Regions from separate parts of the Homo sapiens genome. Here all the other regions are linked to region 7. The links are contacts of gene promoters, found by promoter capture Hi-C in blood cells and fetal thymus (Javierre and others, 2016). All regions are on one chromosome and are shown on one strand. Each heading gives the region's core, a stretch centred on a gene start or on the middle of the fragment in contact. The rest is flanking DNA. Distances are from core to core; before and after follow the strand shown.

Region 1 (3,795 bases), core at 863-3,362, 560 kb after region 7:
TGGATTAGGTCCACGTGACTGACAGCTAGGAACACAGAGTGAGAAAAATCAAGACTGAGGGGTGAGCCAAGGGATAACAGAAGAGACCGAAGCATCATGAGGAAAGAGAAGAGGAGACAGAGGAAAGCAGGGAGGAAGGACTTGCTCCTTTTTGTCCTCTAAGATAGATTTGGCAAAGACAAAAGACTCAAGAGGAAAATGAGACATTATTTTGCACCATCCAGGGGCAAGATTTTGCAAGTACTCAAGCTTCTCTCTTCCAGATATTAAAGGCATAGCAAAGGGGTTATATTATTACTACTGAATGCTAGAATACTATTTTTAAAACATTGATTTTGATTTTTTTCTTCTAGATTTTTTTTCTTCTATTCCATCTCCCCATTTGAACAGACAAACCATTCTTTGCTCCTATCTAAGAGATGGGTCTTACAAGCAGAAAGCAAAGTTTTTCAGTTTCAAAAGCCTGGGCCGGTGGTTCTCAAAGTATGGTCTCCAGACCACATCAGCATCACCTGGATACTCGTTAGAAAGGGAAATTCTTGGGCCCTACCCCAGACCTACTGAATCAGCACCTCTGGGGGTTGGGCTCCACGTTCTGTGTTTTAACAGGCCCTCCAGGTGACTCAGATGTAGGCTGCAGATTGAAAACCACTGGTCTAGATCCTTAGTGAACTGGAGAGAACAAACTGGTAAAAGATTTAGGAGAAAACATCAGGAATAACAGCAAAGCTCCTTACCTAAGTTAGAAAAATATTCTCTAGGCTGAGGGAGGAGGGGAGATAGAAGGGAAGTGATAAGACAGAGAGGTGGTGGGGACAGGAGGAGAGGGCTAGAAGTGAGTGCCAGCCTACATTTTAGTAAGCCCCTTTGCCTATGCCAGACCATTGGGTTAGTTGCCTTCTGGTAGGTGTCTAGTGAGGACTTATGCCTGACAGCAAGCAACAACCAGGACATTGTTTATTGGCTAACAGTCAGAGCAAAATGTTGGGTTTGTGTCCTCCCTATTCCATATGGACAGTCCTTCCTTACAACATCCTGGAATGCTCATTAACTCTTGAGAAGGAAGGTGAGGCCCTGGACCCCTAGTGACCTGATGGTTAGGGAAGGGAGAATAAGCCCTGCACTTGATTTTGGTGGGGATGAACAGAACCAACACAAGATTACCCCTGAGCCAGGGCAAGATAACACTCACCCCAATTATAATGACTACTTGTGTTGGAAATTGGCACTCAGCATTTATTCCAGTCTCCTCCTGGGTTGCCTTTCTGTAACAGTTGAAAGCTTAGAGAGGCTAGAAAGTTTAACTCTGCATTTCCCAGACTCCCTTCAAGTTGTGGATGTGCAGCTCACCATTGCGTTGCAGAAGGCAGAAGGAAGGCAGAGGCTCTTGGCCATCTTTTCTTGGCTTGCTTGGTCAAGCTTCATGTTGGTGGCAGCAGTGGTGGCTCTTCATTCCAACTTCCACATTTCTGGAGCGCAGCAACTTCGGCGTGTTCATGAGCTCAACAGCTCCAGTGACAGCCTCCTGACCCCTCAGCCTGCTAATCTGGGCTGAGGTTGTAGCTTCTGGAGGGAGGGAAATGAGGGTCAGTTCTGTGGCATTCAGGTAGACATTCCAGAAGGCCCCAGCCTACATGCTTATTCCTTCAGTACTTTCAACTATTTCATGAGCACCAACTTCCCTGTATTAATTCCTTCTTTGCTAAAAAACCCAGTCTGGAGCCGGGCGCGGTGGCTGACGCCTGTAATCCCTGCAATTTGGTAGGCTGAGGTGGGTGGATCACCTGAAGTTAGGAGTTCGAGACTAGACTGGCCAATATGGCAAAACCCCGTCTCTACTAAATATACAAAAAAAAATTAGCTGGGTGTGGTAGCGGGCGCCTGTAATCCCAGCTACTCAGGAGGCTGAGGCAGAAGAATGGCTTGAACCCAGGAGGCAGAAGTTACAGTGAGCCAAGATCGCGCCATTCCACTACAGCCTGGGTGACAGAGCAAGACTCCGTCTCAAAAAAAATAAATGAATAAAATAAAATGGTTCCTATTTCTTCCACTAAGGATATACTATTCAAAAAAAAAATCTGTCTTGAAATTTAACTGGAGTGACAGGATGGTTGCACAGAAATGCTTATGATTTCAGAAAATTGGGCCATATGCCAAGGAGCAATAGCAGTACATGCAGTCCATGTGTCAGAGGCTCAGAGGTGAGAGCGCTCACCACCCTGGCCTGGGTTAGGTTTTGGGGCAAGGCAGAACTTGAAGGAAATGTCTTCAAAGAGCAAGCAATGTGCTTTCTGGCTAGTTTTCCTGTTTCAGTTGACTTTGGCCTTGCCTTGCTCCCTGCTTCCTCTTTTCTGCCTCCATACCATCTCTTGTGCAACTCTGCTTACAGGGAACTCCCATCCCTGTCTCTTAAGAACCAAGCAAACCCCTTTTTCTTTTCCTCTTTTATCAGCCTGTCTCTTATTTCAGAATACACATTTCTGTATGCTTCAAAGTAGTTTACAGTTTTCAGTAAGCATGACCATGTTGGCGTTACTTATTTCAGAATGTGAGCCCCTGTTGACTGCCAAGCATTATCCCATGACCATGAGGACTCTCAACAATTGCTACATTATTTGTTAGGGGAGCTTCAAGGTCCAGCTTCCACTGTCTGAAGGAGCTTCAAGAAGCTGAATATGGCAATGTCTGCTGTCCCTACCCAAAAAGTATTTGATTAGCTCTGTCCACAAAGAGCAGAAATTTGAGATGACCCCTTCTGGGCCTGGAGAGCCAGCCTGAGACTAAACCTCCCTAGAAGAAGCTTTCTTTTTTTTTGAGACAGAGTCTTGTTCTGTCACCCAGGCTGGAGTGCAGTGGCATGATCTAGGCTCACTGCAAGCTCTGCTTCCCAGGTTCACACCATTCTCCTGCCTCAGCCTCCCAAGTAGCTGGGACTGCCGGCGCCCGCCACCATGCCCTGCTAATTTTTGTATTTTTAGTAGAGATGGGGTTTTGGCATGTTGGCCAGGTTGGTCTTGAACTCCTGACCTCAGGTGATCCGCCTGCCTCGGCCTCCGAAAGTGTTGGGATTACAGGCGTGAGCCACCGCGCCTGGCCGGAAGAAGCATTTTTAAATTTTCATTATTTTATTTATTTATTTTTGGTTTTTTTGAGATGGAGTCTCGCTCTGTCGCCCAGGCTGGAGTACAGTGGCACCATCTTGGCTCACTGCAAGCTCTGCCTCCCGGGTTCACGCCATTCTCCTGCCTCGGCCTCCCGAGTAGCTGGGACTACCGGCACCTGCCACCACACTCAGCTAATTTTTTTGTATTTTTAGTAGAGACGGGGTTTCACCATCTTAGCCAGGATGGTCTCAATCTCCTGACCTCATGATCCGCCTGCCTCGGCCTCCCAAAGTGCTGGAATTACAGGCGTGAGCCACCGTGCCCAGCCTGGAAGACGCATTTTTTACATCAAATCTCAGACAGGGCAGGAGGGAATTGCTCTGGATTATTATTATTATTATTATTATACTTTAAGTTCTGGGATACATGTGCAGAACGTGCAGGTTTGTTACATAGGTATACATGTGCCATGGTGGTTTGCTGCACCCATCAACCCGTCATCTAGGTTTTAAGCCCCGCATGCATTAGGTATTTCTCCTAATGCTATCCCTCCCCCTGCCCCCTACCCCCCAACAGGCCCTGGTGTATGATGTTCTCCTCCCTGTGTCCATGTGTTCTCATTGTTCAACTCCCACCCATGAGTGATAATATGCAGTATTAGGTTTTCTGTTCCTGTGTTAGTTTGCTGAGA
Region 2 (3,854 bases), core at 718-3,217, 580 kb before region 7:
ATGATGAAATTAAATAGCAATGAAGATCCTGCAACTAGAAACGTGTAAACAACACTCATAAACCAGGTGAATACTAGTATTCTCCAGTAGAATCCTCAGAATTAGCATGGTCTAGCAATAGAAGTTAAGGCTCCAAACTCTTTTTAAATTTTATTTATTTATTTTTTGAGACAGGGTCTCACTCTTGTCACCCAGGCTGGAGTGCAGTGGCACGATCACAACTAATTGCAGCCTTGACTTCCCCAGGCTCAAGCTTTTCTCTCACTTCAGTCTACTGGGTAGCTGGGACTGCAGGTACACACCACCACCCCCAGCTACTTCTATAATTTTTTATAGAGACAGAGTCCCACCATGTCACCCAGGCCAGTCTCGAACCCCTGGGCTCAAACGATCACCTGCCTTGGCCTCCCAAAATGCTGAGATGAACCACTGCACCCAGCCTCCAGAGTCTTTTTTTTTTTTGAGACAGAGTCTTACTCTGTCGCCCAGGCTGGAGTGCAGTGGCATGATCTCGGCTCACTGCAACTTCCGCCTCCCAGGTTCAAGCAATTCTCCTGCCTCAGCCTCCCAAGTAGCTGGGATTACAGGTGCCCACCACCACACCCAGCTAATTTTTTTTGATATTTTTAGTAGAGATGGGGTTTCACCATGTTGGCCAGGCTGGTTTCGAACACCTGACCTCAGGTGATCCACCCGGCTCAGCCTCCCAAAGTGCTGGGATTACAGGCATGAGCCACTGTGCCCAGCCTCCAGAGTCTTTTTTGCACTCCTATTAGTGCAAAATTTTATGGACAGAGCCACAATATGCATCTACAACTTAAGATGCATGTTTTACTATGTCAGTTAGTATCTTAAGGTATATTATATACTCAGTGCAAATTTTGTTTATATTTTTAAATCCTTGCTTCAGATACTATTCTGATAATTTTTTATTGTTGTGCCACCGTCTTGTGATCTGATTAAGTAGTCTGTTTTTACCTTGTAATATGGCTGTTGATTGTAATCATAGAGTAGTATGAATGCTTCCATTTTCTCTTTTATACATGAGTGTGTGTGTTACCAATCTATTTCTTTGAAGACATTTTAAAGCCATGGGTCAATTTTGTGAAGGTTGATTTGGTTAAAACTAGACAAATTATTCCATAAATCCAGGCCCACTCACATTGTAATGCATGAACACTAAAAGTGAAAGAATAGATGAGGTTATCACTGTCTGTCCTTCCATGTATGAGATTCCCCTTACCTTCAGGATACCCAGCATGCTGTACTGACATGTGACCTTCTGATGTGCATGCCCAGCATGGGTTTCAGTGGTATATTAATTGCAATAAAGCTTCAATTCCTTATTTAAGTCTGAAAGTAGATCTAAATAGAAGTTTACATATTTTCTTCTGGTACTCCAGTCTACTTTGGAGACTAGTGCTCTGGAAAACCAGGCTGTACTATTCACCCTGAGGTTACAATTCTCTGAATAAGATCTGCCATGGTGGTCATCTAGTATGGGTCTGGTGGGCAGAGAAGTAAGTGGGACTGTTTCTCTGGATACTTGGGGCTGTATGTGAACATGTAACTTTTCTGACTAAACAGAAGCTTGCTGTCACCCCGCCCCTGGATTCTTACTAGTCACTGTGCAGATAGAATTCCATGTCAGTAGTTTCAGTCATTCTTCATGGGGTAGGAGTATATGGGAAAATAAGTTTCAAAAGTGGCCAGAAAATATAAATCAGAACACCAGTACTCCTTCATTTTAGACTAGGGTTGGAAACTGAAATGGTCATAGGAACCACCCTCTAAAGTAAATGAGTGAAGCAAGATGTTTGGAAGAAAAAGAATAGTATGTCATTGATTACTTACTGGCAACTAACACACATCCTGAGGGCTGTTAAGACAATGGAGAAGCGGATAACCTGGAAAGCACATACTCTGCCATAAGTGACATCTGTCACTCAGTTCTCTCTGATTGTTGCTTTATGAGAATGTAGGTCTGATGTTGCCATTCTTCAGCTTTCCCATACACACTCAGGAAAAGCAGGAAATCCAAATTTTTATGTGTAATACCCTGATATTAAAACAATGACAACAAATTCACATTTTTTTGTAATACTGGAAAGGCCACACAAATATATTTGCAGGCCGGGTTTTACCAACAGGCTGCCAGTATATAACTTCCAGTCTAGATCAAAATAGCAGTAGAATATAGGGAGAAGTGAGATAGTTGGATATTTTGCCCTCATAATTTTGTACTTTGTTTAATATAAAATATGTGCTTTTGTCCCTTCTTTCTATAAGATAAAGACCAGAATTGCTGTCATGATATTTATCTATCCTTATAACAAAAAGCTTTAAAATAATAATTATGTAAGATTCAAAATATGGTTTTATTTATAAGTTATTGGAAATTATTTTTTCCTTAATTAAGTAGTTATTTAGTGAGCATCTGCTATGTGCCAGGTTTTCTGCTAGTCACTGAAAATCCTAAACAAAACCAGGTGCAAAGACATGACAGTCTGGCAAAGGAGCAGTAGAAGTGATAGTCTTGAAAGCAACAAGCTGTAGTGCAGTATGCCATTTATTTGCTACTTGTTATATTAGGAAATTCATTTTTCCATTTAATTTTTTTATTTTATTTTATTTTTAAGACAGGGTCTCACTGTGTTGCCCAAGCTGGTATTGAACTTCTGGGCTCAAACAATCCTCCTGCCACGGCCTCCCAAAGTGTTGGAATTACAGGCATAAGCCACTGCACCCGGCCCCATTTTATTTTTTAGAAAGCAAGTTACACAAGAAAAATGCCTATAGTAGAGTTCATATATAATAGAGTTAATGTCTATGATAGCTCAAGAGAAGAATCATGAGTTCTACCACAGGGAATTGGGTAGGGCCTTAAAAGATGAGCTAATCAGAGACAGGGCATTCCCAGAAGAAGAAGCATATACATTTAAGACATAAATACATGGTATGTTTCAGGAACAGTAAGCAGTATAATGTGACAGAATCATACAGTACCTGGCAGTGAATAGACTGCAGATAAATCTATCTAGAAAGATAAAGTTGAGGATCGATCAGCCATGCCTTTTATGCCAAATTAAGAAGTTGGAGCATTTTTTGTTTAATTTAGGTTGAAAAACAATTGAGGAAATTCCTTTAAATGGGAAGGACATGATCAGATTTTTATTTCAGATCAGTTTGGCATCATTCTAAACTAGCTCTGTCCAGTACAAAAAAATACAATGGGAAGCAAAAATGCAAACCACATAGTAATTTTCAGTGTTCTATTAACCACACTAAAATAAGAGGAAACAGGTGAAATTAATTTTAACAATATATTTTACTTAACCCAATCTATCCAGATTATTGTTTGAACAAGTCGTCAATATAAAAATTAATGAAGTATTTCACATCTTTTTCATAGTAAATCTTCAAAATCTAGTGTGTATTTTGCAGTTGGAGTATATATCAATTTAGATTAGTGACATGTAAAGTGTTCAAGACTCACAAGTAGCATTACTGGGTACTGCAGCTATAGTGCCCACATTATAGAAGATGAGTATCAATTGGAATGAAATTGGAAATGTGAGAAAGAGTCTGCTGGGTTAGTCCCAATGAAAAATGGTGAGGGCCTGAACAAAAATAGTGGCAGGTGTAATGTAGGCAGGTAAACAGAGCTTTTTAAAAAATGGTTTTATAGTCTAGGTAGTCATATGCAACATGGTTTTTATTTTGTTTTTGTTTTAACTCAGCATTGGATTTCTATGATTCATCTATGTTGATGTAGGCAGTTGTAATTCTTATATCTTTTTTGCCGTATAACTTCCCAGTGTAAGAATATACTATGGTATTTTATCCATTTCCCT
Region 3 (4,115 bases), core at 1,258-3,757, 550 kb before region 7:
AGCATATTTGGTAAAACTCATCTTTAAAAAGCAAAGGAATGACAAACAACAGATTTAGAAGAGTAACCTATGTGAGAGAGCCAGAGGGCAGAGATAGAGTGGGTGCCCTTCCCTTTCCCTTAGGTCAAGGTAAAATGGTGGTGATATTCTAGTTCTTGGTTGGGCCTTGGTTTTACCAGGTGTTCATTACTAAATGTGATATAAAGTAAAATAAGGCCATTCACGGGCCAATGATGATAGTGTGCCATGAATCAAGAATTTTTATTAATTGCATTCTGTGCATTTGAATTCCATTTTGTGAAAAAACAACAAAACTGTACGAATTGCAAAGAAATGTTCCTGAATCCCACTATCATAATGCAGCAAGCAGTTCCTCTTAAAAGTCTCAGTTAATGACCTGGAGCACGCTTTTATGCTTTCCAGTGAAGTGTGAAGTGTTGCCTCTCTTGTCAACAAACTGTCAGTCAGCACTGCACCACTTCCAGCAGTTCTGAGGTCAGGGGAAAGATTTTGAAAACCTTGGCTGGGAACTTTAAGACAGAAACAAAAAAGGTGTCAGCTAAGGTTTCTTAGGGACAGTTGTTCATTTGTTTATTTTAAAAATCTGGTTCCAAAAAAGTCTCATTTAAATTCTAGGAAAAAAACAAATGAGAGTATTGCAAAGCAAATGTTTATTCTAAGTGCCAGGTCACATTTATATTGTAATGTGTTTTATACTTTTCTTGGGTGTAATTTCTTATTAAACTATTCTTTATAACTTTATAAAACCCACAGTTTCCACATAGCAATGTCGAAAAGCATTTTGATTTAGAAATAGCGAAAAAAAAGTAGTTTGGGAGCTAGAATGAATGTGCATTTAGAGTAGCATCCCAGGCCGGGTACGGTGGCTCACGCCTATAATCCCATCACTTCTGGAGGCCAAGGAGTGGGCATTACTTGAGCCTGGGCAACAAAGTAAGACACTGTCTTTACAAAAAAAAAATCAAAAAATTAAGCAGGTAGTCCGGGCGTGGTGGCTAACGCCTGTAATCCTAGCACTTTGGAGGCCGAGGTGGGCGGCTCACCTGAGGTCAGGAGTTCAAGACCAACCTGGCCAACATGGTGAAACCCCATCTCTACTAAAAATATAAAAATTAGCCAGGTGTGGTGGTGGGCACCTGCAATCCCAGCTACTCAGGAGGCTGAGGCCGGAGAATTGCTTGAACCCAGGAGACGGAGGTTGCAGTGAGCCAACGTGGTGCCACTGCACTCCAGCCTGGGCGACAGAGTGAGACTCCGTCTCAAAAAAAAAAAAAAAAAAAAAAATTAGCCAGGTATAGTGGCATGTACCTATAGTCCCAGCTACTCGGGAGACTGAGGCAGGAGGATCACTTGAGTCCAGGAGGTTGATGCTGCAGCAAGCCATGATTGTGCCACTGCACTCCAGCCTGGGTGACAGACTGAGATCCTGTCTCAAAATAAATAAGTAAATCAGTGTTCCCTTAGATGTGAGACAAGCAAATGCACAATGTCCACTGTGTCACGAGCAGGGCTACAGAGATTGGAAAGTGAGGACTTAAGCACTGAAAGAAAACCTGTTTGCTAAGTCTCTGCCGTGCTTCCAAAGCTGAAGTATTCCTGAACTTCAGTTTCCCCATCTGTTGAACTCGGGAACTAAGATATGCCTTCCTTACCTCAGAGTTAGTGTATTGAGAAAGTAGATGTGAGCATGTTAGTGGCCAGGCACATTCTGCCCATTACACAGTAAACCAATCACTGAGATGATGAGTTTGGCAGTGGAGAAAAGATTTTATTCTTGAGGCAGCTAAGTGAGCAGCTAGAGAATGCCTCTCAGGTCTGCCTCCCCGTAGAAGAGGCTTTATGGATATTTATGGGGTAGAGTAGCAAGGCGGTCCGAGGCATGGGGAAAGGTGACTGGAGTAAGGGAAAACAAGGCAATGAGTGACCTGCACAAGTGTAGTCAAGCTTCATGGCTCTTAACAGGATGCACGTTAACAAAATGAGATCATTAGCGTGATCTGAGGGTGGAGTTTTTGGCCCTCCAACATCAAAAGGTCACCCACTGTGAAACGGGAGGTTTCCCTGAACCTCCTTGCAGGACATGCAACAAGGGTGTGGCTCGTCTGTTCAGCCACTGTGTGTGCTCAAACCCTTTACGGGAGAGGGAGCACGCAGGCAGGTGCAGGAATCAGGGTGAGCGCTTTTGGGCACCGGCCCACCAGTGGTGTCTAGGGGTAGGAGCCTGCAACTCCTGAAGCCCCAGTGGATGAGCTACAGTCCTCTTTTAGCTCTGCCATCCGCAGATGGCTTAAATGTTAAACAGCTCAGTGCCGTCTTGGTACCTGGATTCTTGTCCAGTGTCCAGGGAGAATCAGATCACACACAGACTTGAAGGATGGTGAATGTGGGGGTTTTATTGAGTGGTGGAGGTGGCTGTCAGCAGGGAGCCGGAAAGCGGATGGAGTGGGAAAATGACCTTTCCCTGGAGTTTGGCTGTCCAATGGCCTATCTCTCCTCCCTGACTGCCCCAGCCAAACTCCTCTTGATGTTCAGATGCTCCTTCTTTACTCTCCTTCTCTGCCACGCCGTTCTGCAGCTCTTCTGCTCTTCTGTTTGTCTGCTCATCTGCTTGTAGAGCCTGGGGCTTAGGGTTTATATGACTACAGGATAGGGGGCGTTCCAGACCAAAAGGCAACATTTGGGCATGAAAACAGGAATGCTTGTTCTCATTCCAGGCTGCAGGTTTCCAGGCTTTAGGGTGGGGCCTTTGCCAGGGAACCACCCTCTTCTACCCAGTATTTCCCTGTCTCCTGTCCATATCAACTGGACATTCACACAGGTCCAGTTGAAGGGCTGGTGGTCTCAGCTGGTTTGAAGTGGACAAGGACTGACCCCCACTTCCTGAAAAACAACTGTTACCATGGTGAGCAATGCCTTAGAGTTGTTAACTATAAGGAAGCTACTGGCAGATATATATTATTTAGCTATATGGATTTTAAAATCAGCTAGAAGCAAGCGGCTAAAAGCAAGCAAGGCAAGATAAGCTTGGTGGGCCTTATAAGTTTAGTCCTCAGTTTCCATCAACAGCCCATGGTCAAGCAAGAGGCAGCAGGTGGGGTAACAGGAAACCAGTGGGATGCAGACAGTGCGCCCATGCCCATTTTATAGTGCTTGGAGCATGAGTTTACTATTTATAATGACCACGGAGTTTAGAGCTATTTTATTATTGCATTCCTGACAGAAATTATCAAATCATATCTGATGTGCTTGATGTCAAGTCCCTAACCCAGAATGTAAGTCCAAATTTATAACTTCATTATTTGTTTGTTTGTTTGTTTGTTTGTTTTGAGAGGAAGTTTCAGTCTTGTTGCCTAGGCTGGAGTGCAATGGCAAGATCTTAGCTCACTGCAACCTCTGCCTCCTGGATTCAAGCAATTCTCCTGCCTCCGCCTCCTAAGTAGCTGGGATTACAGGCGCAAGCCACCACGCCTGGCTAATTTTTGTATTTTCAGTAGAGACAGGGTTTCACCATGTTAGCCAGGCTGGTCTCAAACTCCTAACATCAGGTGATCCACCCACCTCAGCTTCCCAAAGTGCTGGGATTACAGGCGTGAGCCAATGCACCCGGCTATAACCTCATTATTATGATAAAAAACATACAAACCAGTTTGCAGAAACCTGTTTTATGATGCTCCAATTTATGTGGCAATTTCTAGAAAAAAATTTATGGTGATAAGTGAGAATTGTCAGTCACTGAAACATTAATTACATAGTCAGTGAAGAGCAGGTAAAATATACTTCTGGGCTTCACTTTACATTAGAGATGTTTTTCTGAAACGGTGCCTATGAAACAAATCCTTGTCCCCATTACTTCATATTTATCATTTCAAAGGCACTTTATCTTTATTTCTGGTTGATCACCCTTTGAGGGTGGCATTCCAAAATGTCAGCTCAAAATTTCCCTGCCCTTCGGTTTCTGTGACAAGTAAGTTAACGATCTGTAAATAAATCCTGAAATGTCCTCAGGAATCTGCCACTTGAAGGAATTCTATTAGGATTCTTCCAAAATGCAAACACTTGGCGTGTCATGGGCCTGCCTGAAGTTGTACGCTGGG
Region 4 (4,328 bases), core at 140-2,639, 600 kb before region 7:
TAAGCAGTTGACATCATTCTTCTAAATGTTATGTGGAATCATAGGAAGAAACATCATTGCAATCATTTTCAAAGTAATATTAAAGGTATCAGAAGAAATGTTGGGTCTTAAATGTCAATTTGAATGTACAGTGTCTACAATAATAGATCAGAGAGAAAGTAAGTATATCTGTAAAGGAAAAAAGGCCGGGTATGGTGGCTCACGCCTGTAATCCCAGCACTTTGGGAGGCCAAGGCGGGCAGATCATGAGGTCAGGAGTTCGAGACCAGCCTGGCCAACATAATGAAACCCTGTCTCTACTAAAAATACAAAAAAGAAAAAAAAAATTAGCCTGACATGGTGTCAGGTGCCTGCTACTCAGGAGGCTAAGGCAGGAGAATCGCTTGAACCCAGGAGGTGGAGGTTGCAGTGAGCCAAGATCGCACCATTGCACTCAAGCCTGGGCAACAAGAGCGAGACACCATCTCCAAAAACAAAAGGCAGGAAAAAATGGCTGGGTGCAGTGGCTCACACCTGTAATCCCAGCACTTTGGGAGGACGAGGCGGGAGGATAACGAGGTCAGGAGTTCAAGACCAGCCTGACCAACATGGTGAAACCCTGTCTCTACTGAAAACACAAAAATTAGCACTTGTAGTCCCAACTACTCGGGAGGCAGAGGCAGGAGAATTGCTTGAACCTGGGAGACGGAGGTTGCAGTGAGCCGAGATTGCGCCACTGCACTCCAGCTCAGGCGACCGAGCAAGACTCTGTCTAAAAAAAAAAAAAAAAAAAAAAAAAAATCAGGAAAAAATGAGTTAGTTTCTAGTACTGTAAGTACTGTATCCTTCAATGAAAGAAGAACACAGATTAAGGATAAAACGACAGTCTTATCAACTAGGCCACCTTTAAGAATCATTTATCAGGGTAGCTAAAAGGAGCAACAATAAAGCTCTACATACATAACTGAAATGTTTACCATTAATCTAGTCCCAGCACTTTTATTTGTAGAGTTCTCAAATCAAAGTAACAACTAATTATACATCAGGATTGTTAGGAATACCAAATATTATTTTACAACTGCCACTATGTGTTTCTTCTTCTCTGACACAATTGGCACAGATCCAGGCTTGCTGTGTTTAACGTGATTCACTTCCTCTCATCGACAAGCTTCTTTCATGATGCACTGTTCCTGAATTGGGCTGTAGACAGAATTTGGTAGATGTCAATGACGAGCTATCGGTTGTATATGAGGATGACGCTGAAATTTCTCCTTCAGTTTCTGGTTATAATACTTGGCTGCTTTTTCTTGTGATGTAAGCATACCAAATTTTGCAGAAGCATTAGCTTTCCATAGGTAACTGTTCATTTCATCAGATCCATACATAATATACTTGCTGTCAGAAGTCCATTTTACACACATAACATGTTGCTTTCACTTTGTGTGATATACCTCCCTGCTTTGACTTTTATCTACAGGAAAGATTCAAATAGATTTATTGAAACTAGCAGACACAAACTCTTTCCCAGTGGGAGAGTAATCCACATCAAGCACTGCAGATACATGATCCATATGGACCATTACATGAGTGCACGCATATCAAAAGTAAATAAGTTATAATCATCATTTGCTGCCATAAAAATGAAAGCTTCCATAGGGTTTCAACAGACTGTATTTGTTCTCATATCTAAGATAACCTTTTTCAGAGGAGTAGCTTGCCTCATATCATACAGTACTGTAGTCCTGTCGGAAGCACAACTTCCCAAGATAAATGTCTCAATTGCATTAAATTTACCACTACTTATACTGTCAAATCTCCAGGTCATTGAACTTATAGGATTAGTTATTTGTTCATCCCAAATGTCTACTTGCTGTCCACATGTGGCAAAAACAGCTTCTTTCCAGTGATGATCAATCCCAGTATACACTGTCTTTCCTAATATTGTATGTAATGGCCCTTCCTCCTCTCCGTAGCCTGGCCCATCCATTTTCCACTGCTTCACAGTTTTGTCATCACCAACAGTGAAAAAAGAAGTCCCACAAAAGTGAGCACGTATTCCCTGTACAAAACCTTCATGTGCTTGTATTATACGGATACATTTCAGCTGAGTCAGGTTCCAAATTCTAACTGCTCCATCACATCCCCTAGAAAGGAGAGTAGCCAGGATCTTTGGATGCTTTGCCAAGCAACTCACTCCATCTCGTGACCATCCAGCCAAGCCAGGCATGGTTTTGCAAATACTCCTTCCAGTTTGGTAGCATTTAAAACTCTTACACATTCTTGCAGGACCTCAAAAGGATGTAAGGTAGGATCACAGTTTCTTGGAATAATCTGTAAGTCCAACTTGGTTTTGCGGACATAGTTGTCCGGATTCCAGCTCAATGTCTTCACCTTCACCTTCGTTGCTCTTCCTGCCAGACTCCACAAGCTCTTTGCTCTATAGAATTTCAAAGAGTACTGAGAGTGTCACAGGATTATCCCCAGAAATTTCCTCCTACAGGACCTGAGTCAATCATAGTTTTTATGTAGATTATGAAGACTGCAGCCCTTACCAATTTTTCTCTGTTTTGCCATAGATTTTGCAGGGCAATCTAATTGTAAAGCAGAAAACAAAAAAATATATATAAAAAGCACGTTTTGTGTTCTTCACTGCACTTATCACAACTTGAAAATATATATAGTTTTTGTCCTATCTTTCCCTTTATTTTATTTTATTTTATTTTATTTTATTCTATTCTATTGAGACAGGGCCTGGGTCTGTCACGCAGGCTGGAGTGCAGTGGTGTGATCTTGGCTCACTGCAACCTCCACCTCCTGGGCTCAAGCCATCCTCCCACTTCAGCCTCCCAAGTAGCTAGGACTACAAGCTCAGGCCACCACACCCAGCTAATTTTTGTATTTTTTGTAGAGATGGGGTTTCACCATGTTGCCCAGGCTGGACTCAAACTACAGAGCTCAAGCAATCCACCTGCCTTGGCCTTCCAAAGTGTTGGGATTACAGGCATGAGCCACTGCGCCCAGCCCTATCTCTCCCTTTAAAATAAACTCTTTGAGGTCTACTTTGTATGATCAGCACTTAACAAAGTGTCCAGTACATATGAGTGATCAGTAAATGCTAGAAGGAATGTATGAAATGTTCAGGTTTTTCTTCTCAAATGATTGGCAAATAATGAAATGAAAGATACTAAGAGTTCAGTCTTCCCCAAGCTAACTTGTATCATAAATCCAAGTTGCCTTAGCTCTGCTTTGCATTTTCCTTTTTTTCAATACTGAGCAGCTTCTCCATCATACTTCCCAGGCATTCACTATCCCTTTTACAGCTCTTTGGCAGCCTAGAACTTTTCCCTTTAGTTAAGTCTGTCTTCCTGGGATGGTGCCCAGATTCCAAGACTATCTCTTTCTTGCTCTACTCCCATTAAAACTCCCATTATTTTATTTTTTACTGCCAGGAGAAAAATATTCAGATAATTTCTCATTGAAGCATTATGCTGTAATAGACCATTTAATCCAGTAATTCTCCAGGGTATTTGTATTTTAGAACATGAAGCCGTTAGCCTAAGATAGAGAATGTATTATGATGGCATTTCAGGGTCAGTGTGACAGTGGCATGGGGTGTATATATATTTCCGTAGGTGGGTGGTGGGGTGATTGGGACTTTTCTTATTCTCTCAGGCCTCATCAAAAAGGTGGTCACCTGCCTTGATTACAAAGTCAAAGTCAGTAAATTCCTAGTCAAAATCAATAAACTCAGGCTTCTCACCATTGGTCATACTAGGAGAGGAAAAAATCAACAAAGAAAAATAAGAAAGCAGAGGGGTTTAAATACAAACACAGAAACCTTGCTTTTCCCTCAAGGAAAATAGCAACAATAACAAATTGCGTCAGAAAGCAAAGACCAATTTATTGAGCTTGTAAGACAATTAATGACAAATGTTTATCACTTTAAAAAATTCGAATGGGTGGAAAGTATAAAAAAATACAAGCCCATGAAACATAAACAACATTCACAAGCAGGCCGAGTGTGGTGGCTCACGCCTGTAATCCCAACACTTTGGGAGGCTGAGGTGGATGGATCACCTGAGGTCATGAATTCAAGACCAGCCTGACCAACATAGTGAAACCCCATCTCTACTAAAAATACAAAAATTAGCCAGGTGTGGTGGCACACACCTGTAATCCCACCTACTCAGGAGGCTGAGGCAGGAAAATCGCTTGAACCTGGGAGGTGGAGGTTGCAGTGAGCCAAGATCACGCCATTGCACTCCAGTTTGGGCAACAGAGTGAGACTCTCTCTCAAAAAAAAAAAAAAAAAAAAAAGAATGTTCACAAGCAGATTCTCCAAAATATTC
Region 5 (4,154 bases), core at 1,159-3,658, 590 kb after region 7:
GCTAAATGATGAGAACTCATGGACACAAAGAAGGGAACAACAGACAATGGTGCCTACTTCAGAATGAAGGGTGGGAGGAGAGAAAGGAGCAGAAAAAAATAACTATTGGGTACTGGGCTTAATACCTGGGTGACAAAATAATCTGTACGACAAACCCCCATGACACGAGTTTACCTATATAACAAACCTGCGCACATACCTCTGAACCTAAAATAAAAGTTAAAAAAAATTAATGATATTTTAATATTCTTTTTTCATACTAAGTCCTTAAATTTCAGTGTGTATTTTTACATTTACTACATAACTCAGTTTGGACTAGCCACATTCAAGTGTCCAGTAACTACACGTGGCCAGTGGTTGCCATAATGGGCAGCGCAGCCTTAGAGCAAGGCCTGGCTCATAGTGTTCCCTATTACCATGGTAGTTACTGTTACATGGACGCTGGGCCCCTTGGCCCTGCCTTAGTTTTCCTGTCTGCTCATTGGGAACCCTGACACTGTTAGCTAATCCAATTCTATCAAATAAATCCCAATAGAATTAGCATGTCTGTTGGGGCTCCGGGGGGCAAGTGGACATGTTTTGAGTAAGGAGGGTTCAGGAAATGCTCCTTTGAGTCAGGAGGAAAAGGATTTTCACATCACTGGTCCCTCCCACTGAGGAGGCAGCAGGCACCAGAAGCTTCAGTGGAAAGCAGTAACTAGAGAGGGGTTTCCAGGGCAGAGCTTGGCTACGCTGCCACGTTTGATGATGTCCTTCCATGTCTCTTTAAAAGAGTCTGGCCGGAAGCACCTGGGGCCTGGAAGAACGGTCTGCCCTTCAGCAGAGTTTCCTGCCCCTGTCTCCATGCCACCCTCCCCTGCCCACTTGCAGAAACAAAACGCTGTCTTCAAAGGCCTGTGTCAGGTGGACCAACTACTGGCCCACGCCCTGTGTGGCTGACCAGCCATTCCGCTTGGCTCATTGGAGCCGTAAGTGCCTCTGTTCTTCTGCTCAGGGCATCTCAGAGCCTTACCTTTGCCCTCCCAGGACCTGTGGCCCCAGCCCTGAGATGGGGTTCACTTTGGAGGCCCTCTGGCTTCTCAGGACTCCAGCTGTGTAGTATGCTGTGGCTGCCTTACCAAAGCACCACAAACTAGGTGGCTTAGAACAACAGAAGTATATTGTCTTGTAGCTCTGGAGGCTAGAAGTCTGAAAGTCACGTCTTTGGCAGGGCTGATTCCTTCTGAGATCTGTGAGGAAGCATCTATTGGAGACCTCTCTCTAGCTTCTGGTAGCCTCCTGCACTCCTTAGCTTGTAGACAACCTTCCTTTTGTGTCTTCACATCATCTTCTCTCCATCCATGTTGGTTTCTGTCCAAATGTTCCCTTTTTATAAAAACATCAGTCAAATTGGATTAGAGATGGGATTCAGAGAAGAACTTTGGTTGCTCCTCATTTTAACCTAATTACCTTGGTAAAGATCTCATCTCCGAATAAGGTATGTCAGGGCTCAGAAAACAGCAACCCAAAATGAAGGCCTCAGAAGCAACCAATTCCAGGTGGAGGTTATAGTGAGCCGAGATTGCACCACTGTACTCCAGCCTGGGTGAGAGAATGAGACCCTGTCTCAAAAAAAGAAAAAATGAAAGAAATTATCTGACCTACCTTGCTTGATTATAGTCATAAGACCCCCATTCCAGGGAGAGTCCTGCCCCACACCCAGAAGGAATGCCGGCTCAGGGAGGCCAAGAAGAATCTAGACAGAGAGGCCTTGCTGGGTTTCCCCCCTCAGTCTATTAGCAGTAGATCCCCTTTAGGTCCAATCATATTTCTACACGGTTGTCCATACTTTATTAAACTAAGCATAAAAATGGACAATTTCCCCTGCATCTTTGGGTCTTCATTGTGATGACTCCTGTGCATACATGTTAAATAAATGTGTGTTGCTTTTCTCCAGTTAACCTGCCTTTCAATGAGTTGAGTTGTCAGTGAAACTTGAGAGGGCAAAAGGGAACTTTTTCCTTGGCCTCTAGATGTCATATGCTGAGGTACTAGGGGTTAAGACTTTAACACAGAATTTTGCTGGGGTCATAATTCTACCTATGACAACAGTCTAGCCTCCTTCTGCAAGGGTAAATGTCCACTCTGTCATCACTGGGAATTCAGGAAGTGGGTGAACTTCTGAGGCTTCTGGGCTAGTAGTATTTGATAGAAATAATTGCTTAGTGGAGCTCACATAAATTCAGAATTTTCTGGAGCTACAGGCAGTACAGTGACCAACAAAACTCAGCCTTTGTGCCCTAGGAATTGTAATCCAATAGGACTTTTCTTTTCTTTTCTTTTCTTTTTTTTTGAGACGGAGTCTCGCTCTGTTGCCCAGGCCGGAGTGCAGTAGCACAATCTTGGCTCACTGCAACCTCCGCCTCCTGGGTTCAAGCAATCCTCTGCCTCAGCCTCCTGAGTAGCTGGGATTACAGGCACCCGCCAACACACCTGGCTAATTTTTGTATTTTTTGTAGAGGCGGGGTTTCACCATCTTGGCCAGGCTGGTCTTGAACTCCTGACCTAGTGATCCACCCGCCTTTGCCTCCCAAAGTTCTGGGATAACAGGTGTGAGCCACCGTGCCCGGCTCCAATAGCACTTTAACCAGATAATAAAATACAGGGTGAAAGGTACAAAGAACAAAGATATAGTCGAGAGAGTGCTTTCTTGTGGTTGCAAGATAAGTGACAGATTTATGGAGATTTGCTTTGAATAGTCCTTCTGATTCCAAAAGTAAAGATGAGAATGGCTGGGCATTCCAGGTGTAGAATTCCAGGGACAGGCGGGCATTCCACGGAAGACTAAATCACTTGAATGTCTGGGAGGTGGACAGAAGCAGCCAGGGTGAGAAAAGGGTAGGAGAGCAGGACACAGCCAAATGATGTGATGGCTTTTCCTGCCAGGCCAAAGAAGTGGCCTTTGATAGGCAAAGGGCATCCCTTGAGAGTTTTGTAGTAGGAGGGCAACAAAGCAAATCATCTGTCAAGGATATGAATCCCATTGGTAAGAATGGGCTAGGAGGAATTAAGGAGAAGGTGGGTGGGAAAGTGTAAACAGGAGGCTCTGACAGTTCAAATGTGAGAGGTAAAGGCCTCAGGGTAGTTGCTATGGAAATGGAAAGGGAGGAATGGGGGTGTGGGAAAGTGTTTGAAAAGAAAGAACCCAAGGCTGGGTGCGGTGGCTCACACCTGTAATCCCAGCACTTTGGGAGGCCGAGGTGGGCGGATCACTTGAGGTTAGGAGTTGGAGACCAGCCTGGCCACCATGGTGAAACCCCGTCTCTACTAAAAATACAAAAATTAGCTGGGCGTGGTGGCACGCTCCTGTAATCCCAGCTACTCGGGAGGCTGAGCCATGAGAATCACTTGAACTGGGGAGGAGGAGGGAGGTTGTAGTGAGTCGAGATTGTGCCATCATGCTCCAGCCTGGGCAAAAGAGCAAGACTGTGTCTCAAAAAAAAAAAAAAAAAAGAAAAGAAAAAGAAAAATCCCACAGAACTTGACAACGAAATAGATGTTTAGGAATGAGGGGAAAAAGAAAGAGAAGACAAAGATGGTTTCAGGTTTCCCAGTCTGGGCAATTTGGAGAGGGTGGGTACCATTAAGAGATTTGGAGAGGGTGGGTACCATTAAGAGAATGAGGCAGGTGAGTCAGGGGCGTGGCTGCTGGAACACTCCCTGCGGAGGGGAGAGGCTGGCAGTCAGTCCCTTCAATTGCCGAAAGCAGGAGTGACCTCTCCCCTTCCCCTCCCCTTGCCCCTTGTTCCTTTTTCCCTTGGAAGCTGTATCATTTAAATTAAACGCATTTAATCATTTAAAGGCACAGTATGGTCTCAAGGGTGTTCTTGATGTCACAATGAGGAAATGAGAAAGGGAAGGGCCTTAAAGTTATATCCCTTTCACGAGACTAAGGAGGAGGAGGTGATGAGAAACATGTAGTAATATACATCTGCAACTTCATTTCAGTCCAGTGCTGGGTCAGCACCCCCAGGACACCTTTGACACTGGACGTAGTGTCAAATGGGGCAAAATAGATACTTGCATTCAGTTCACAGGTCCTGGTATTTCTCCCTTTGAAATGCAGAAGATACAACTTTTGGTTCCTTATGAAAGCTTTTCGTCTCCTATGTGGA
Region 6 (3,815 bases), core at 1,041-3,540, 640 kb after region 7:
GGGAAGTGTGCTCAGGAGTGAATTTCAATGGCTCAGAGGCCCACGCTTTCCTCTGGGATGGGCTGCTTTGGTGCCCCCTGGTGGCTGCTAACCTGGTGTGCGGCGTCCAGGCAAGAACAAGCAATGAACTGAGTCCTAGCTCCCCAGCAGGGAAATATGGAAGATTCTTAAAATATCACACTTCCCACCTGATCAGACACGCAAACTCTTTTCTCCCATTATCTGAGCAATTTCAGGAAACTCCCGTTAGTGCTACGTCCCTCAGCTTCTGCCTCAGTGACACGTTACACACTAATTTATAAATTACAAGCCACTGCCTTGTAACCTGATCACAGCTGCACACACCTCACCTTCCCTCCAACCATATAGGCTCAGAGAACCCGCTTCATTTTCATTAAATAGTAAGGAAAAGCTCCCCGGGCTTCTGTATTCTACTAGGCCTGCTTTTATTTTTAACAGCCTGTCTGCCAATGCACTAGTGGGCTAAAAATAGACTTACTTATAATACAATTCATCATGCACTCAGCTGCCAGGAGGAAGCTTAATTTAAGCTTCATCCAAGATGAAATACCTTTAAGAAACATATTATTTCATGTAACTATTAATATCAGTTTTTAAGAGTCCTCCAATATGAACTCTTTGATACATACTTTGGAAATGAGGGAACGTTAGAATGTTATGAAAAGAGATCTCGGCAAAACTATCTTGCCATAGTCTTGGCCAAGGTTAGAAAATGCTTTGGGAGCTCTTTTCCTTAACTCCAAACTCTTTTAGTTTCTCTTTGCTTTTTCTCTTAATTCTAGCTCTTTGTTTCAACTTGATCTGAATAAATTGGATCATCATAGAGTTGCCAGATTTAGCAAATAAAAATACAGAATGCCTAGTTAAATTTCCGATAAACATTGACAGTTTTTTAGTATAAGTAAGTCTCAAACATTGCGTGGTTTGCTCAGGACTTTTCTGGTTTTAGCACTGAAAGTTCTACATGCGGGAATGCCTTCAGTCCCAGGCAAATGAGGCAGCCAGTCGCCTTAACTACAATATAAATCATACCCTTCCCCCATCTTCAGGATTTATTTCCCACTAGGAAGTCTTGTGGGAGAGAAACTTTTAAAAATAACAGCTTTATTGAGACATAATTCACATATCATAAAACACCTCTTAAAAGTATACAATTCGGTGATTTTAGTATACCTATAGAGTTGTACAACTATCACCACTATCTAATTTTAGAATATTTTCATCACCATGAAAACCCCATACCTACTGTCAGTCACTCACCATTCTCCACTCCCCTCAGGCCCTGGATACCACTAAGATACTTTCTGTCTCTATGGATGTTTCCATTCTGGACATTTCATATAAATGAAATGTGGTACAGGCTGGGCACAGTGGCTCACGCCTGTAATCCCAGCACTTTGGGAGGCCAAGGTGGGCAGATCATCTGAGGTCAGGAGTTTGAGACTAGCCTGGCCAACATGATGAAACCTTGTCTCTACTAAAAATACAAAAATTAGCTGGGTGTGGTGGTGTGTGCCTGTAATCTCAGCTACTTGGGAGGCTGAGGCGGGAGAATCGCTGGAACCTGGGAGGTGAAGGCTGCAGTGAGCTGAGATCATGCCACTGCACTCCAGTCTGGGTGACAGAGTGAGACTCCATCTCTAAATAAATAAATAAGTAAATAAATAAATAAATGAAATGTAGTGCTTAGTGGTTGGATTCTTTCAGTTAGCCTAATGTTTTCAAGGTTCATCCATATGGTAGCATGTGTCAGTACTTCATCCTTTTTTATTGCCAAATAGTATTCTGTGTGGATATATAAATGCATACCTTGGAGATATTGAGGGTTTGGTTCCAGACCACTGCAATAAAGTGAATATCACAATAAAGACAGAAGTTTTCGTTTCCCAGTGCAAAAGCTATGTTTATAGCATCCTGTAGACTGGTAAGTGCGCAGTAGCATTACATCTAAAAAATATACATACTTAATTTAAAAATAAATTAATGAACGAATTTTTGCTGGTAAACATGGAGGTGTCCTGCCTCCATGTTGATGGCGGCTGACTGATGAGGGTGGTGGCTGCTGAAGGCTGAGGTGGCTGTGGAATTTCTAAAATAAGACCACAAGGAAGTTTCCTTTCATGGAAGATTTTTCTATAGCACGTGATGCTGTTTGATAGCATTTTAGTCACAATATGACTTCTTTCAAAATGGAAGTGCGTCTTCTCAAACCCTGCTGCTGCTTTATCAACTAAGTTTATGTAAAATTTGAAATACTTTGTTGTCACTTCAATGATGTTCACAGCAACTTCAGCAGGAGTAGGTTCCATCTCAAGAAACCACTTTCTTTGTTCATTCATAAGAAGCAACTCCTCATGTATTTGAATTTTATCATGAGATGGCAGCAATTCAGTCCCATCTTCAGGCTCCACTTCTAATTCTAGTTCTCTTGCTATTTCCACCACATCTGCATTACTTCCTCCACGGAAGTCTTGAAATCAAGTCAAGACTCAAAGTCATCCTTGAAGGCTGGAGTCAACTTCTTCCAAACTCTTGTTAATGTTGATATTTTTATAAATTCTATTAACTTTGAATTTTTATTAACTTCTATGAATCACAAAAGTTCTTAATGACATCTAGATTGAAGAATACTTTCCAGAAGGTTTTCAATTCACATTGCTGAGATCCATTAGGGGAAACACTATCTATGGCAGCAATAGCCTTACAAAAAGTATTTCTTTTTTTTTTTTTTTTTTTTGAGATGGAATCTCACTCTGTTGCCCAGGCTGGAGTGCAGTGGTGCTATCCCGGCTCACTGCAAGCTCCGCCTCCCAGGTTCACGCCATTCTCCTGCCTCAGCCTCCCAAGTAGCTGGGACTACAGGTGCCTGCTAGCACGCCCGGCTAATATTTTGTATTTTCAGTAGAGATGGGGTTTCATTGTGTTAGCCAGGAAGGTCTTGATCTCCTGACCTCGTGATTCACCCGCCTTGGCCTCCCAAAGTGCTGGGATTACAGGCATGAGCCACCGCGCCTGGCCACACAAAGTATTTCTTAAATAATAAGACTTGAAAGTAGAAATTACTCTCCTTGATCCATGGGCTGCAGAATGGACATTGGATTAACTGGCATGAAAACAACATTACTATTATTTTTTTATATACCTCCATTACAGCTCTTGGGTGACCAGCTGCATTGTCAATGAACAGTAATATTTTGAAAGAAAATTTTTTTGAAAGGAATCTTTTTTTTTTTTTCTCAGCAGTAGGTCTCAACAGTGGGCTTAAAATATTAAGTAAACCATGCTGTAAAGAGATGTGCTGTCACCCAGGCTTTGTTGTTCCATTTCTAGAGCTCAGGCAGAGTAGATTTAGAATAATCTGTAAGGACCCTAAGATTTTCAGAATGGTAAATGAGCACTGGCTTCAACTTAGTCCCCAGCTGTATCAGCCCCTGTATTATTCCGTTTGTGTTGCTATAAAGGAGTAACTGAGGCAGGGTAATTTATGCAGAAAGAGATTTATTTGGCTCATGGTTCTGCAGGCTGTACAAGCATGGCAGCAGCATCTCCTCCTGATGAGGCCTCAGGAGGCTTCCAATCTTGGTGGAAGGTAAAGGGGGAGCCAATGTATCACATGATGAGAGAGGGAGGGGGGAAGTGCCACACTCTTTTAAACAACCAGATCTCATGTGAACTTAGAGCAAGAACTCACTCATTACCATGAGGGCACCAGGCCATTCATGAGGGATCCACCCCCATGACTCAAACACCTCCCACTAAGGCCCCACCTCCAACACTGGGAATCACATTTCAAC
Region 7 (4,314 bases), core at 823-3,322:
CATTGTTTGGATACAGCACAGTTTATTCAGCTACTGAAGGACATCTTGGTCTTTTTTTTTTTGAGACGGAGTCTCACTCTGTCCCCCAGGTTGGGGTGCAGTGGCATGATCTTGGCTCACCACAACCTCTGCCTCCTGGGTTCAAGCAATTTTCTGCCTCCGCCTCCTGAGTAGCTGGGATTACAGGCGCCCACCATCACGCCTGGCTAATTTTTGTATTTTTAGTAGAGATGGGGGTTTCACCATCTTGGCCAGGCTGGTCTTGAACTCCTGACATCGTGATCTGCCCACCTCGGGCTCCCAAAGTGCTGGAATTACAGGCGTGAGCTACCATACCCGGCCCGTCCTTAAGTTTTGGCAATTATGAATAATGCAGCTATAAACATACTTGTGCAGGTTTTTGTGTGAACATAGTTTTCAACTCCTTTAGGTAAATATCAAGGAGTGTAATTGCTGAATTGTATGGTAATAATATATTTCTTTTTTTTTTTTTGAGACAGAGTTTCCATCTTGTTGCCCAAGCTAGAGTGCAATGGTGCGATCTCAGCTCACTGCAACCTCCGCCTCCTGAGTTCAAGCGATTCTCCTGCCTCAGCCTCCCAAGTAGCTGGGATTACAGGCGCGTGCCACCACGTCTGGGTAATTTTTTGTATTTTTAGTAGAGACGGGGTTTCACCATGTTGGCCAGGCTGGTCTCAAACTCCTGACCTCATGATCCGCCCACCTCGGCCTCCCAAAGTGCTGGGATTACAGGCGTGAGCCACTGCGCCCGGCCGGTAATAGTATATTTCATTGTGTAAAAAACAAAACAAAAAAACAAATTGGGCAGGGCATGGTGGCTCATGCCTATAATCCCAGTACTTTGGGAGGCCTAGGCAGGCAAATCACTTGAGGTCAGGAGTTCAAGGCCAACAGGCAAAAACCCCGTCAAAAAAATTAGTCTGGCATGATGTCAAGCACTCGTAGGCCCAGCTACTCGGGAGGCTGATGCAGGAGAATCGCTTGAACCCTGCAACAGAGTGAGACTCTCTCTCAAACAAAATAAAACAAAACGGAAAAACTATTAGAGGCTGGGAGCGGTGGCTCACGCCTGTAATCTCAACACAGAGGCGGAGGCGGGCGGATCACGAAGTCAAGAGTTCGAGACCAGCCTGGCCAACATAGTGAAACCCCGTACTCTACTAAAAATACAAAAAATAAGCCGGGCATGGTGGCGTGCGCCAGTAATCCCAGCTACTCGGGAGGCTGAGGCAGGAGAATCGCTTGAACCCGGGTGGCGGAGGTTGCGGTGAGCAGCGATCGCGCCATTGCACTCCAGCCTGGGCGACAGAGCAAGACTCCGTCTCAAAAAACAAACAAACAAACAAAAAGCAAAAAAACTATTAGAGCCTGGGCAACATAGTGAAATCTTGTCTCTACCCCCCACCCCCAAAAAAATTAGCCTGGGTGCGGTGGGATGCACCTGTAGTCCCAGCTACTTGGGATACTGAAGTGGGAGGATTGCTTGAGCCTGGGAGGTCGAGGCTGCAGTGAACTGTGTTCACGCCACCGCACTCCAGCCTGTGCGACAGAGCGAGACTCTGTCAAAACCAAACCAAACCAAAACAAAAAAAACCTATGATCCGGTTTCTTGAAGCAGATCCTATGGCAAGCCATCAAGCCAGAGCGGTAAGAAGTAGGAAGATGGTGCTTTTAGATCCACTACATTCCCAGGATCAAATGTAGAACAATATTTAGTCCCTAAAGTGATTCTCTTTCCATTATTGTCAACTGCGTGGTCGGTGCAACGTGAAAGGGCCACAACTATGTGAAGGAAACACTTAGAATATAACACCAAAGGAGGCAATCGCTGCCTTAGACTTCCTAAAGATCTAAAGAACTCTTAGATGCTTGGTGAAATCGCTCTCTGCCGCTGGTGCGACTCAGGCGCGGTCGCGAGGAAGGTCCAGGGTGAACGCGCGTAGGCTGGGAGTCCGCGTTGGGGCGCTCCCTGGCTTGCAGGCCGCTCCGAGTGGGTGGGCCGGGGGCGGGGCCGGCGGCAGGGAGCGGACTCCGCCCCCGGGGCGGGTCCAGTCGGGCCGCGGCGCGTCGCTGCGCCGCACGTGTGCGAGCCCGGCCGCCGGTGAGTCGGCTGGAGCGCATCTGGTCCTCCGCGCGGAAAGCGCTGCTTTTGCCTGGCCGCCCTAGCCGCTGGCTCATCCAAGTGGCCTTCGCCGCTCTCTTGCGTCCCAACCAGAGCGCTGGCCACCTCGCCGCCCAGCTCACGCCGCGCCCGCGCTCCCAGGCTCCGGGTAAGTGCGCGGCCTCCCCGCGGCCGCCGGGGCTCCTCGGCCTGGCCCTGGCCCCAGCCCCAGCCCCAGGGCCCCGCCCCAAGAGGCAGTGCGGACTGGGAAGGCGGACTGGGAAGGCGGCCCCGCAGTGGTCAGAGCCCGCGGCGCCTCCATTATGGATCGTGCCAGCGGGAGCACGGTTGGAACCCAGTGGGTCCTGCGCTTCGGCGGTGCAGGCGCCGCTCTCCGCTCCCCGCTCCCCGCTCCGCTCTGCCCGGCCAGTCGTCCGGAGGCGCCGCGCCCGAGCGCTCCCCTCCTCCCCGCGCGGCGCTGTCCCCCGGGGGCCCCCTTCCCACTCCTCCCTTTCTTTGCCCCGGACGCTCCCTAAACTCTTGTCCCTCCGTCAGAGGAACACTGGCCCTGAAGCCCTTCACGGTGCCACTGCTTCGCCGCGCCTGCCTTCTGTGGGTCCAGCCCACGTGTTCCACCCCTGTGTCCTGCGTCGCCGCTCACTGGGAGCCTACTAGGCGCCACGCGGGCTCTGGGGACTGCTTGCTTTGTATGCATTTCCCAGAGTAGGAGTGGACGGGCTGCAGACTCAGAGTGCTTTCTCCAGCCCTCAAGCTGGGTGAATGCTTAACGAGTGGATGGAGGTGCTGCTGTGCAAGCTGAAATTCGAGTCCTCCTCGTCAGCCCTGCGCAGAGGTGTTTAGAAGCACACCTTCGTTGCCTGCCGAGTAGGGTTGGCAAAGAGTTTAGTTTTTAAAATATTTGGTCCCGTCAGACTACTTTTTTTTTCCATTCCAAAAATAAAGGGTTACTAAGGTTCCCTCCCCCCCATCCCCAAGCCTCTAATCATCTATGAAATGACTATGCCCCATTGGCCTGGGGGAGCCTCGACTATTGAGGGATCTGTCGAAAATCAGACTGTACAACACTATTGAAAAGGGGTTGGTTAGGCAATTGTTAGGTTCAAACATTAGGAAAGTAGCCAACAGTACGTACTTAACAACTCCTTGTGAACATGTTTTTGGTTTTTTTATTTTTATTTTTTTAATTTTTTTGAGACAGAATTTTGCTCTTGTTGCCCAGGCTGGAGTGCAGTTGCGTGATCATCGCTCACTGCAGCCTTGAACTCCTGGGCTCAAGCAATCCTCTCACCTCAGCCTCCCAAGTAGCTGGGACTATAGGCATGTGCCACCACACAGGGTCTCGCTGTGTTGCCCAGCCTGGCCTCAAACTCCTGACCTTAAGCAATCCTCCTGCTTTGACCTCCCAAAGTGCTGGAATTACAGGCTTGAGCAACCACACTCGGCCTTGAACATATCTTTGTTTTTTGATTTATTTTTTTTAGACGGAGTCTCACTCCATCACCCAGGCTGGAGTGCAATGGCACGATCTTGGCTCACTGCAACCTCAGCCTCCTGGGTTCAAGCGATTCTCCTGCCTCAGCCTCCGGAGTAGCTGGGATTACATGTGCACGCCACCATGCCCAGCTAATTTTTGTATTTTTATTTATTTATTTATTTATTTATTTATTTATTTATTTATTTTGAGACAGTCTCGCTCTGTCGCCCACATGTATTGCAGAGGCAGCACCTCCATCCACTCGTTAAGCATTCACCCAGCTTGAGGGCTGGAGATGTATTGCAGTGGCGCGATCTCGGCTCACTGCAGGCTCCGCCTCCCGGGTTCACGCCATTCTCCTGCCTCAGCCTCCCGAGTAGCTGGGACTACAGGCGCCCGCCACCACGCCCGGCTAATTTTTTATATTTTTAGTAGAGGCGGGGTTTCACTGTGTTAGCCAGGATGGTCTCGATTTCCTGACCTCATGATCTGCCCGCCTCTGCCTCCCAAAGTGCTGGGATTACAGGCGTGAGCCACCGCGCCCCGCCTAATTTTTGTATTTTTAGTAGAGACGGGGTTTCACCATGTTGGCCAGGCTGGTCTTGAACTTCAGACTTCAGGTGATCCACCCGCCTCAGCCTTCCGAAGTGCTGGGATTACAGGCGTGTGCCATCACACCCGGCCTTGAACGTGTCTT

Evidence for each region. The method cuts DNA at HindIII sites, captures the fragments that hold promoters and counts their contacts. A CHiCAGO score of 5 or more calls a contact.
Region 1: a contact is called between a fragment that was not itself captured here and the fragment with the promoter of PUS7 in region 7, in 6 of 17 cell types (neutrophils, total CD4 T cells, fetal thymus and 3 more). The highest score is 9.1, in neutrophils.
Region 2: a fragment that was not itself captured here is called in contact with the fragment with the promoter of PUS7 in region 7 in 1 of 17 cell types (fetal thymus); the score reaches 5.1 in fetal thymus.
Region 3: a fragment that was not itself captured here is called in contact with the fragment with the promoter of PUS7 in region 7 in 1 of 17 cell types (naive CD8 T cells); the score reaches 5.3 in naive CD8 T cells.
Region 4: a fragment that was not itself captured here is called in contact with the fragment with the promoter of PUS7 in region 7 in 1 of 17 cell types (naive B cells); the score reaches 5.1 in naive B cells.
Region 5: a contact is called between a fragment that was not itself captured here and the fragment with the promoter of PUS7 in region 7, in 4 of 17 cell types (naive CD8 T cells, total CD4 T cells, activated CD4 T cells and 1 more). The highest score is 5.7, in naive CD8 T cells.
Region 6: a fragment that was not itself captured here is called in contact with the fragment with the promoter of PUS7 in region 7 in 1 of 17 cell types (total CD4 T cells); the score reaches 6.6 in total CD4 T cells.

What each region holds. Positions count from the first base shown.
Region 1 is chr7:104,959,755-104,963,549 of GRCh38, reverse strand. LOC101927902 (a long non-coding RNA gene) reads right to left here. Exons shown (of 2, transcript NR_187679.1): 2 at 1,216-1,566. Among named protein-coding and RNA genes, the nearest start is that of LINC01004, 30 kb to the left of the region's middle. RefSeq lists an enhancer at 2,127-2,196. The HindIII fragment of the contact is 1,381 bases long and covers 1,422-2,802 here.
Region 2 is chr7:106,103,160-106,107,013 of GRCh38, reverse strand. The region is part of intron 1 of SYPL1 (synaptophysin like 1); the gene reads left to right. Among named protein-coding and RNA genes, the nearest start is that of SYPL1, 7.2 kb to the left of the region's middle. The HindIII fragment of the contact is 750 bases long and covers 1,593-2,342 here.
Region 3 is chr7:106,072,461-106,076,575 of GRCh38, reverse strand. No RefSeq gene overlaps it. Among named protein-coding and RNA genes, the nearest start is that of SYPL1, 38 kb to the left of the region's middle. The HindIII fragment of the contact is 1,079 bases long and covers 1,968-3,046 here.
Region 4 is chr7:106,123,419-106,127,746 of GRCh38, reverse strand. It overlaps the pseudogene DCAF13P1. Among named protein-coding and RNA genes, the nearest start is that of SYPL1, 13 kb to the right of the region's middle. The HindIII fragment of the contact is 479 bases long and covers 1,150-1,628 here.
Region 5 is chr7:104,933,411-104,937,564 of GRCh38, reverse strand. No RefSeq gene overlaps it. Among named protein-coding and RNA genes, the nearest start is that of LHFPL3-AS2, 8.8 kb to the right of the region's middle. RefSeq lists a silencer at 2,354-2,518. The HindIII fragment of the contact is 3,456 bases long and covers 681-4,136 here.
Region 6 is chr7:104,880,113-104,883,927 of GRCh38, reverse strand. The region is part of intron 2 of LHFPL3 (LHFPL tetraspan subfamily member 3); the gene reads right to left. Among named protein-coding and RNA genes, the nearest start is that of LHFPL3-AS2, 45 kb to the left of the region's middle. The HindIII fragment of the contact is 3,473 bases long and covers 554-3,815 here.
Region 7 is chr7:105,520,029-105,524,342 of GRCh38, reverse strand. PUS7 (pseudouridine synthase 7) reads left to right here and starts at 2,072. Exons shown (of 16, transcript NM_019042.5): 1 at 2,072-2,291. RefSeq lists enhancers at 807-1,307, 2,591-3,245, 3,560-4,177 and silencers at 1,944-2,693, 2,903-3,048. The HindIII fragment of the contact is 10,027 bases long and covers 1-4,314 here.